Regions from separate parts of the Homo sapiens genome. Here region 2 is linked to region 1. The links are contacts of gene promoters, found by promoter capture Hi-C in human tissues and cell types (Jung and others, 2019). All regions are on one chromosome and are shown on one strand. The core of a region is centred on a gene start or on the middle of the fragment in contact, and the rest is flanking DNA. Distances in the headings are between cores, read along the strand shown. Region 1 holds the start of CIDEA (cell death inducing DFFA like effector a). Region 2 has its middle 53 kb from the start of C18orf61.

What was found. Contacts are between HindIII fragments. The study calls those that stand out against the background at their distance.
Region 2: a fragment that was not itself captured here is called in contact with the fragment with the promoter of CIDEA in region 1 in 4 of the 25 tissues and cell types used here (H1 embryonic stem cells, heart left ventricle, mesendoderm cells and 1 more).

The regions. Positions count from the first base shown.
Region 1 is chr18:12,252,668-12,257,754 of GRCh38, forward strand. It overlaps CIDEA (cell death inducing DFFA like effector a), which reads left to right and starts at 1,694. Exons shown (of 5, transcript NM_001279.4): 1 at 1,694-1,754. The coding sequence starts at 1,717. LOC105371996 (a long non-coding RNA gene) reads left to right here and starts at 2,346. Exons shown (of 2, transcript XR_935158.3): 1 at 2,346-2,764; 2 at 2,912-4,789. RefSeq lists an enhancer at 830-1,436. The HindIII fragment of the contact is 10,266 bases long and covers 1-3,050 here.
Region 2 is chr18:12,145,704-12,150,847 of GRCh38, forward strand. It overlaps a transcript of ANKRD62 not described here. Among named protein-coding and RNA genes, the nearest start is that of C18orf61, 53 kb to the right of the region's middle. The HindIII fragment of the contact is 9,377 bases long and covers 1-5,144 here.

The DNA.
Region 1 (5,087 bases), core at 444-2,943:
GATAGATATATACACACAAACAGATTTTTTTCTTTCTTTAGAGAGAAAGTCTCACTCTGTTGCCCATATTGGAGTGCAGTGACATGATCACAGCTCACTGCAACCTCAAACTCCTGGGCTCAGGTGATCCTCCCTCCTCAGCCTCCTGAGTAGCTAGCACTACAGGTGCTCGCCGTCATGCTTGGCTAATTATCGTTATTTTTGTGTAGAGATAGTAGTCTCACAGTGTTACCCAGGCTGGTCTCAAATTCCTGGCTTCAAGCCATCCTCCTGTTTTGGCCTCCCAAAGTACTGGGATTACAGATGTAAGCCAGTACCCTCAGCCCTGTTCTTTCTATGTATCTCTATATTTGAACTTTTTCACAATAAAAAGGTTAGAGGTAAGTTGACCTGAATTGATTGGACCCATTTTCTCATCCATCACATTGGGGCTGTGAGTGGGAGGGGCAGTGAATGACCTCCTAAAGCTGTGTCCGCTCAGTGCCTCTGGGGGAAGCTGCCCCCTGTGAGCCTGGAGCTGGGTGTTCCCAGCAGGCGGAGTCCTTGACTCTGGAAGGCAATTGCCTTTGGCTTCAACAGTCCTGCAAGTCACAAGGCTTGTTGACCACGGTGACCCTTTCTGAGAGCCAGCGGAGGAAGAGGGCGGGCATAGGGTCAGGTCTTAAGAGATCAGGTCAGTCTGCTCAAACCAGGTGGGCTCAGGAGGAGCCGGCGAGGGTCCCGCTGCAGCTCCCGAAACGCTGTTTCCAGGCGGCAGTCAGCAGTTGGGCACGAGAGGATATCCTAGCAAGCCTCCATCCCAGAAAGTTACACCTCTTACTGCCCGAGTCCCACCCCTCAACACTGAGCCCACCTCTTCAGTCCTGTAGTGAGGGGTTCTGGGAACCCCTTGTAACTGCCCGCCTTCCTCGGAGGTCTCAGAGGCCCTAATTGCGTCTTCCGATGGGAACAACCATGAGAGCAGGGTGTGGACGGAAGTCCCCCAGCCCCAGCGGGGTTCACTCTTTGCCTCCTCACTCTGCGAGGGTCCCTTACTACAGCTAAAAGGCAATTCATGCAGTCCAAAGGCTCCTTTCCCCTCCCGTTCTGCATGCCCTTCTCACTGTCCCCAAATGCTCATGACATGGCCTTGAGAGCAGCGCAGCGGGCAGGAAGCCCAGGCGCCTCGGAGAACCTGAAGGGCTGCAGGTCCCGGTGTCTGCGGCAGCTTCCGCATCCCTGCAGGGAACCAGCGGCTCGCTGAGCCTGGGGCTGGGCTCTGGGGGACTCCAGAGCTGGAGGCAAGTGGCGCTCACATCCGTCTCCTCACCTGCCCCACCCGTGGCCTGGGTTTAAAATCCACATACCCGTCTTTCCGCGGCCAAAGTGATGCTGCCAGGATTGGTTATGACCCCAACTGCCCCGACCCCCAGAAGTGCAAAACGAACAGGCTGGCAAGTGACCAAAAGAGACCCGGGGAGCATCTGGGCTTCCAAGGTCCTCGGTACGGCCCAAGGCAGCGAAGGACGCGCGGCTCCAGGCTGCGGGAGCCAGGACGACCGGGGGCTCCCAGAGCGCGAAGTCGCGATCCTCGGCGGTGGAGAGCTCGTGCCAAAACGTCCTCCCCTGCGCCAGTCAGGCCTTCGCGGGGCTGGCAGGCGGGCGGGGGCGGGGCCGCCGCACTTTAAGAGGCTGTGCAGGCAGACAGACCTCCAGGCCCGCTAGGGGATCCGCGCCATGGAGGCCGCCCGGGACTATGCAGGAGCCCTCATCAGGCGAGTGCCCCGCGTCCCCCTGATTGCCGTGCGCTTCCAATCGCCTTGCGTTCGGTGGCCTCATATTCCCCTGTGCGCCTCTAGTACCGTACCCCGCTCCCTTCAGCCCCCTGCTCCCCGCATTCTCTTGCGCTCCGCGACCCCGCGCACACACCCATCCGCCCCACTGGTGCCCAAGCCGTCCAGCCGCGCCCGCGGGCAGAGCCCAATCCCGTCCCGCGCCTCCTCACCCTCTTGCAGCTGGGCACAGGTACCAGGTGTGGCTCTTGCGAGGTGCGCGGGCGTCTGCAAACCAGGTGACAGCTGGCGAGTGGCTGCATGCATCTCTGGCCGCTGCTGCAGTCGCGGGCGCAGAAGAGGGTCCGGTCCCAGGAACCCCGAGCAAAGCTTCCGCGATGCGAGGGGACCGGGCTTCTGGGGGTCCTGGAAATCACAACGGGAGCTGGGCGCGGGAGGGGCCCAGGCTTGGCCCCTCCTGGAAGCGCGGGCTCTGGTCTCCGAGGGGAGGCCCCAACCGTCCGGCGGAGCCCTCCAGGTTGGTGGTGCTGGGAGAAGCGCTCCTCCTTGCCTCCGGGTCCAAGGGCGGAGACGCTGCCTGGGGAGCAGGGGGGACAAGGGGCGGGTGGACCCTGAGGAGTCTTCCCTGCGCTTCGCACCCGCTCGTGGTCGAACAGGCAGCATTGGCTATTTTCCTGCTTGGGTTAATATTCATATCCCAACAGACCCAAGCCAATTCTTGGTAAAATCCTAAGTCATTGCGTGGCAGCAACTGTAAAGTAAGGTCTAAGAGGGAGATCGTGTTTCTCTGAAGATCAAGTACCTGGAAAAGGATAGAGAACCATTTGCGGGCTTGAAGGTGCAGGCGTTCAGCGGCGCCGGGTCCCACTGTGTGTGCTACGTGTGGCGGGCAGAGAGACTACATGTGTGAAAGGGAGCGGTCCGGCTACGAAACGCAATCTATGAGCTTCCAATCCCGGGTTCTTAAATGGGAGCTGTTGTAGACACTGCAGGTTAGAAGCATCTTTCTCTTTAAAAATAAGCCCACAGTACAAGTCGGGGCGGTGGCAGGGGGACGCTGAGAAACACCTGCTTCGTGTATGGTCATTAACACGCTTAGGCCTAAAGGTCAGGGCCCTGTATCTTTTGCGTTCTTCCAGAACCATCCACACCACAGTCCCACTTCCAGGAGGGGAGGTCTTAGCAGTTTGGAATGCGTCCTTCCAACCACTTTTCCAGTGAATTCACAACACACCCACTGTTCCTCCGGAGCATGGGGGAAGGAGGTGTGGGCTGACTCGCACTAACCAATCCTGGTTGGCCTCTGAGCAGGATTCAGGCTGAGCCTGTCCCTGCCTCTGACTATTATAACAGCTCACCAAAATCCAAAATGCATCTGTGTGGGGTCTCTGTGAGGTCGTGTGAAGTGGAAGTGACTTGCTTATGAGCTGTTGACAAATGAAACATTGGGAAACCTTGAGTCTCCTAGGACACATTCCTTCCAGCTTGGCTCATCCCAGGAGTGAATGACTCTACCTGTTATGGACAAGCTGTTGCTGCAGTTCTTTGAAATCTACCTGCTTCCAGGCTGAACTACTGTCATTCTGTGAAATCTACCTGCTCCCAGGCTGAACTACTGTCATTCTGTGAAATCTACCTGCTCCCAGGCTGGACTACTGTCATTCTGTGAAATCTACCTGTTACCAAACTAAACTGGAAGAAAACAATCTGTAATTCTTGTTGAAGGGAAAACACCTTTTCTTCCCTGCCCCTCTCTAAAACCCTGTCCGGGCAAAAGAGCCAGAGGCCAGGTCCTAACATATTTGCTAATTGTGCTCTTGCTGGACTTCGGCTTCCTCTCAGGGTTCCTTAATTTAAACCAGGTCCAGGATGTCATAATTCTGTCTTTATTAGTAACTACATTTTACCAAGGAAAGAACCGAATCAATGTGCACAAAAATTTTTAAAAATCAGGTACTTGTAGTCAGTGGTGAAACCTTAACCCAGGCATTTGTTAGTCAGCTAGAATCGTTAGGGGCCTTGGTCCTGAGGAAAGCAGCCTGAGGTCTCACAACAAAGCTCCAGACATCAAGGAGGTCCACATGCAGGTTGACTATCACAGACAAAGTCTGCTCTGTTCCTGTGTTCTGCCAGTGATAACATTCCTGCCAAACGCTGAAGTTGTTATGAAGCTGGTACATGTTATAAGCTTCGTGTGAAATGGCTGCTTTCATAGCTATCTAGCACATTTTTCCTTTCCTTGAACAAGGAACTCTAGGTTTTGTGCTGCTATTTCAGTACAAATTTCACCAGTCTTCTTAGTGACATTAGTAAGGAATTAAGTATGCTACAAGTCAATCTCTCAGCTTTCTGCTTCTTGAATTTAAATTCTTATTTTAACGAAACTGCAAAGTGTTCAAAGACTTCATGGTCATGTATTGAACACTTGATAATGTCAAGCCTTTAGGTAGCTTGCGAAGAACTGAGCCATGAACCAGGCAGTCCTTGTCGGGGCGAGTTTATCTGGGGGGTAGGTGTGCTCCCACCTGCATATGTCACGTCCAAGAGCCCTAGGGGAGCCGGGCAGCAGGAAGTCTCGTCAAGGCAGCACTTGCTTCCCTGCTTCCTGCCACTGACCCCACCATCCTCTGACACTGTCTCTACAGCTCAGGGACTCTTCTCCAGGCCTGTGGAGCACTTTCCCAGCCCTCCCTTCCTTCTCTGCGTGGCTGTGCTTGACCTCACACTTCCCTCCTTGGCATTCCCTGCTGCTCTTGGTGACAGTGCTCGGTTGGCTTCTGTCCAATTCCTGTGTACTGCTTCTTCCTCCCACGGTGGCTGCCTCTTTTTCTTCCTAATGATGAGATGCAGAGTTCCCTCAGCCATCACTGCCCCCTGAATATTCCCAGGCACTATTTTACACAGCCTGTACTGCTGCCCCCTCACCCATGACACCAAAATATTTCACTTTGAGGAAGACCTTAATACTGGGCCCTTTTCCTCCATAGGTGGCATGTAAAGAAAGCTTTTTAATTCTCTGTACGGCTCAGGTTTGTTTTACTGGAGAAGAGTTCAGGTCTACTGTCAGTCTGTGGCTTGTTGGTGTATTTCACACACTTTTGGAAGTTGGCGGCGCCCTGCCTCCCTCGGGGCAGAATACAAAACCTTCCCTTCCCACCTGTTCCTGAGAGACATGCCGTTTCACAGCGTTCTATGAAGTCTGACTTTTCCTCTCTGGATTTCTGTGAAACAGCCTACTTCCTTAAACAAACTGTTTCCTTATATCTTCCCTGTTAGAGGGTTATTTCCCTTTCTGTTTCCTGTGGTTGTGTGCCC
Region 2 (5,144 bases), core at 2,591-5,090, 100 kb before region 1:
GGGCCATCTTTGCCACTTGGGTGGCTTAGCCATTCCAGCCTTTGGCCTTCAGAGTGTGCAGACCAACCTGCGGCAGAAGTGTTCCTCTAGTACAGCACAGCAGAGCTGTTCTACAAAAACTTGGCCAGGCTGCTTTCTTAAGCATGTCCTGGATCCCGTTTCTCATCACAGGGCCAGGCTGCTTTCTTAAGCGTGTCCTGGATCCCGTTTCTCTTCACTTTGTAGGACCTCCCAAATGGGGTCTCCAGCCACCCGCACCAGTGTTCCTTGGCCGACAGACATCTTAAACCTTGCTCTGTGGGACCTCTCAGAAAGAGGGGCAGGCCACATCTTTGCCATTTGGGCGACTTAGCCATTCCAGCCTTCGGCCTTCAGAGACTGCAGGCCAACCTGCGGTAGAAGTGGTAGCACAGCACAGCACAGCACAGCGCAGCACGGCTGTTCTATGAAAACATGGCCAGGCTTCTTTCTTAAGAGTGTCCTGGATCCTGTTTCTCCTGACTTTGTGGGACCTCCCAACCGGGGTCTCCAGCCACTTCCACTGGTATTCCTTGGCCGGCAGACATCTTAAACCTCACTCTGTGGGACTTTCCAGGAGGAGGATCAGGCCGCCATCTTTGCTGTTGGGATGACTTAGCCATTTCGGCCTTCAGTCTTTGGAGAGTCAGAGGCATCTGGAGGCTGGAAGAGACCCCCAGCACAGCACACTTGCTTTATGAAAATGGGGCCAGACTTTTTTGGGGGGGCGTGTGTGTGTTTTGAGATAGAATCTCCTTCTGTTTCCCAGGCTGGAGTGCAGTGGCACAATCTCGGCTCACCGCAACCTCCGCCTCCTGGGTTCAAGCAATTCTCCAGCCTCAGCCTTCCGAGCAGCTGGGACTACAGGCATAGGCCAGCATGCCCAGCTAATTTTTGGAGTTTTAGTAGAGACGGGTTCTCACCATGTTGCCCAGCTGGCCTCGAACTCCTGATCTCAAACGATCCGCCCTCCTCGGCCTCCCAAAGTGGTGGGATTACAGGGGTGAGCCACCGTGCCCAGCCCAGACTGCTTTTTTAAAGTGGGCTGCCGATCCTGTTCCTCCTTAATGTGTGAGACTTCCTGGCAGGGGTCTTCAACTACCCCTGCCAGTGTCTGCCAGCCAACAGAGGTTTCCAACCTCCCTGGGATGAAGCTCTCAGAGGCAGAGGCAGGCTGCTACCTTTGCCATTTGGGTGGCTTAGCCATTCCAGCTTGTGGGCTTTGGAGTGTTCTAGGTGACTGGGGGCTGAAGCGCGGACCCTTAGCACAGCGCAGCTGGTCTACAAAAACGAGGCCAGACTGCTTTTTAAAGGGGGCCCCGATCTTGTTCCTCCTCACTGGGCAGGGCCTCCCAACTGTGGTCTCCAGCCACCTCCTACAGGTGTGTTTGGGCCACCAACAGGTCCATACCTCTCAGGGACAGACCTCTTGGAGGGAGGGGCAGGCCGCCATCTTTGCTGTTTCACAGCCTTCACTCGTGTTACCTCTAGATACTGGAAGATCCGAGCTGGCTAGGGACAGGATTGGGCCCCCAGCATACTGCAGCAGCCCTACAGGAAAGTCTCCAGAGTGTCACGTGGATGCCCATTACCGTATCTTTTCAGGGGGCTGGTCCTCTGGGCCTGGGCTTCCAGCAATCTCCCACCAGAGATGCCAAGCCAGTAGCAGCCCTGCAATGCCCTGAACAGAGCCTCCAGGAGCAACTGAAAGCCTCTCTGCCACTGCCTCTACAGTGGAACTACCCTTGCTACCTTTGGACTAATGAAGCAGCAAAGACCCTACCTGCCTTATCCACACCTCCAGCAGGCTGCAGTTGACCCAGAAAGAGGAGGCCAGTCCATCTCTCAATGCTTAAAAAAAAAGTAGGCAGTCTGGCCATCTTTTCATCGAGCAGCTGTGCTGTGCTGGGGGTACGCTCCCATTCCTGGTCACGGGGTTCACTTCCAAGCCAGAAAGCTGGATCCGCCCAGCCACCAAAACTGCAAAGATGGCAGGTTGCCCCTCCCCTTAGGAGCTCTGTCGCAGGGAGGCCTCAAACCTCTGTCAGCTGGAGAGCACTGGCAAGAGTGCCTGGAGACTCCAGTCGGGAGGTCCCGCTCAGTGAGGATGGCGTGTGGCTGGGCTAGGCTGGCACTGCCACCCCCGATCGGCTTGAACCCTCTAAAGCCTGCAGGATGCAATGGCTAAGTTGCCCCAACAGCAAAGATGGCGGCCTGCCTCTCCTTCTTGGAGGTTCATCCTGGGGAGGTTTCAGATCTCTGTCAGGTGGAAAACACCGGGATCAGGGACCCGCTTAAAAGGGCCAACTGGGGGCTGCTCTACGAAAACGTGGCCAGACTGCTTTTTCAAGTGGGTCCCTGATCCCGTTCCTCTTCACTGGGTGGGAGCTTTCAACTGGGGTGTCCAGCCACCCTTGCCAGTGTTCTCTGGCTGACAGACGTCCCAAATCTCCTTGAGATGGAGCTCCCAGGGAGTGCGGTAGGCCACCATCTCTTCTATTTGGGCAACTTAGCCCTTCCAGCCTTCGGGCTCAGAAGTGAACGAGGAGATCGGGGACGGAAGCAGACCCCCAGCACAGCACAGCACAGCACAGCACAGCACAGCACAGCACAGCACAACACAGCTGCTCAACAGAACGATGCACAGACTGGTTTTTCAAAAAAACGTAGTGCTGTTTTCTAAAAACAGGCACAATTGCTTACGCCGGTAATCCCAGCACTTTGGGAGGCTGAGGTGGGCAGATCATGAGGTCAGCAGTTGGAGATCAGCCTGGCCAGCATGGTGACACGGCCTCTTGACTAAAAGTACAAAAAGTTAGCCAGGCGTGGTGGCGTGCACCTGTAGTCCCAGCTACTCGGGAGGCTGAGGCAGGAGAATTGCTTGAACCTAGCAGGCAGAGGTTGCAGTGAGCCCAGATTGTGCCACTACACTCCAGCCTGGGTGGCAGAGTGAGACTCTCTCAAAAAAAAAAGGAAAAAAGAAAAGTGGCCCCAATACTTTTCTGAGTGAGGCTTCTCCTCACTCAGCGGGACCTGTCAACCGAGGTCTCTCCAGCTACCTCCTACAGATGCATTCAGGCCGTCAACAGCTCCATACCTCCCTGGGACAGGGCTTCCAGTGGGAGGGGCAGGCCACCATCTTTGCTGTTTTGCAACCTTCATACCTCCAGGTGCTGAAAAATCCAAGGTGACTAGGGACTGGAGCAGGCCCTCAGCATACTGCAGCAGCCCTACAGAAAGTGGCCACACTGTTACATGGGTGCCCATTCCCGAAACTCCTCACCTGGCAGGTCCTCTAGCCACCCCTCGCCAGACCTATGGAGCCAGTGGCAGCTCGGCAACTCCATTGACACAGCCTCCAGGGGCAACTGAAAGCCTCTCTGCCACTGCCTCTGCAGTGGAACTGCCCTTGCTACCCTTGGACTAGTGAAGGAGCAAAGACCCTATGTCCTTGATCCACACCTCCAACGAGCTGCAGTTGACCCAAGGAGAGGAGGCCAGTCCATCTCCCATGGGCCCCACATGCTCCCCTCTGCTCACTACCAGACAGGGAACCCCCGGCTTGGGCCCACAGCACAGACACTCCAACCTGGGCTGATTGCACTGAGTGAATGCTGACCTGCATCTCTATGGGTGGAGCCCCCAGGAGACACGCGAAAGACCCTTGGCCACAGCCACTACTAAGGTCCCTTTCTCTGTGCCTCCAAGTTGGGGAAGGAACATAAACACTGAGATCGCCCCCGAGCTGCAGTGGGCAGCCCAGGAGTGCCAAGCCACAATCTACAGCCAGCACTCAAGGGGGAGAGGAACCCATACTTTCAGAGTACTGGGAAGGAACAGGGCTGCAAGTGTGGTTCAACATAGAGGAGCCACACAAACGAGCAAGAGTTTACCAACTGACCAATATTCCTAAGCGCCACCTACTGGATCACACCCTAGAACCTCAACACCAAAAGTACCTTGCTAACATACTCCCATCTGAAACCAAAGACAAGAAGTCAGCTTCAAATCAAGACCCGAATAAAGTGTCAGTTCTGTGAAAACATCCAGAAAAGAAGTCTATTGACTGTACTGAGTCTGCACTGAAGTTAAAGGAACACCCACATGCAGAGATGAGAAAGAACCAACGCGAGAACTCTGGTAACTCAAATGGCCAGAGTGCCATACGTCCTCCTAAGGACCACAACAGTTCTCCAAGAAGAGTTCTTAACCAGACAGAGCTGGCTGACATGATAGAAATAGAATTCAGACTATGGGCAGGAATGAGGACCGTTGAGATTCAGGAAGATGGCAATACCTAATGCAAGGAAACCGAGAATCACAATAGAATAATACAGGAGCTGAAGGATGAAATAGCCACCATAGGAAAAAAAAACACCACCACCACTAAGAGGCCTGACGGAGTTGAGTAACACAATACAAGAATTTCACAATGCAATTGCAAGTATTAACAGGAGAATAAATCTAGCTGAGAAAAGAATTTCAGAGCTTGAAGACTGGCTCTCTGAAATGAGACAGTCAGACAAAAAATTATAAAAACAACCAAAAGACATGAACAAAACCTCTGAAAAGTATGGGACTATATAAAGAGGCCAAGTCTATTTATCATTGGCATCCCTGAAAGGGACAGAGAGAAAGCCAACAACTTGGAAAACCTATTTCAGTATATTGTCTATGACAACTTCCCCAAACTTGCTAGAGAATCAAACAAATTCAGGAAATACAGAGAACTCCTGCAAGATTTTACACACGAATACCATCCCCAAGACATATAATCATCAGATTTTCCAAGGTCCAAATGAAAGAAAGAATGTTAAAGGCAGCAAGAGGGAAAGGGCAGGTCACCTACAAAGGGAACCCCATCAGGCTAACAGTAGACATCTTAGCTGAAACCCTGCAAGCCAGAAGAGATTGGGGGCCTATATTTGACATTCTTAAAGAAAAAAATCCTTTAACCAAGAATTTCATATCCAGCCAAAGTAAACTTCCTCAGTGAAGGAGAAATAAGATCCTATTCAGACAAGCAAAAGTTGAGGGAGTTTGTTATCACCAGACCTGCCTTACAAGAGATCTTGAAAGGAGCACTAAATATAGAAAGACCACCACCAGCTAGTACAAAAATGCAC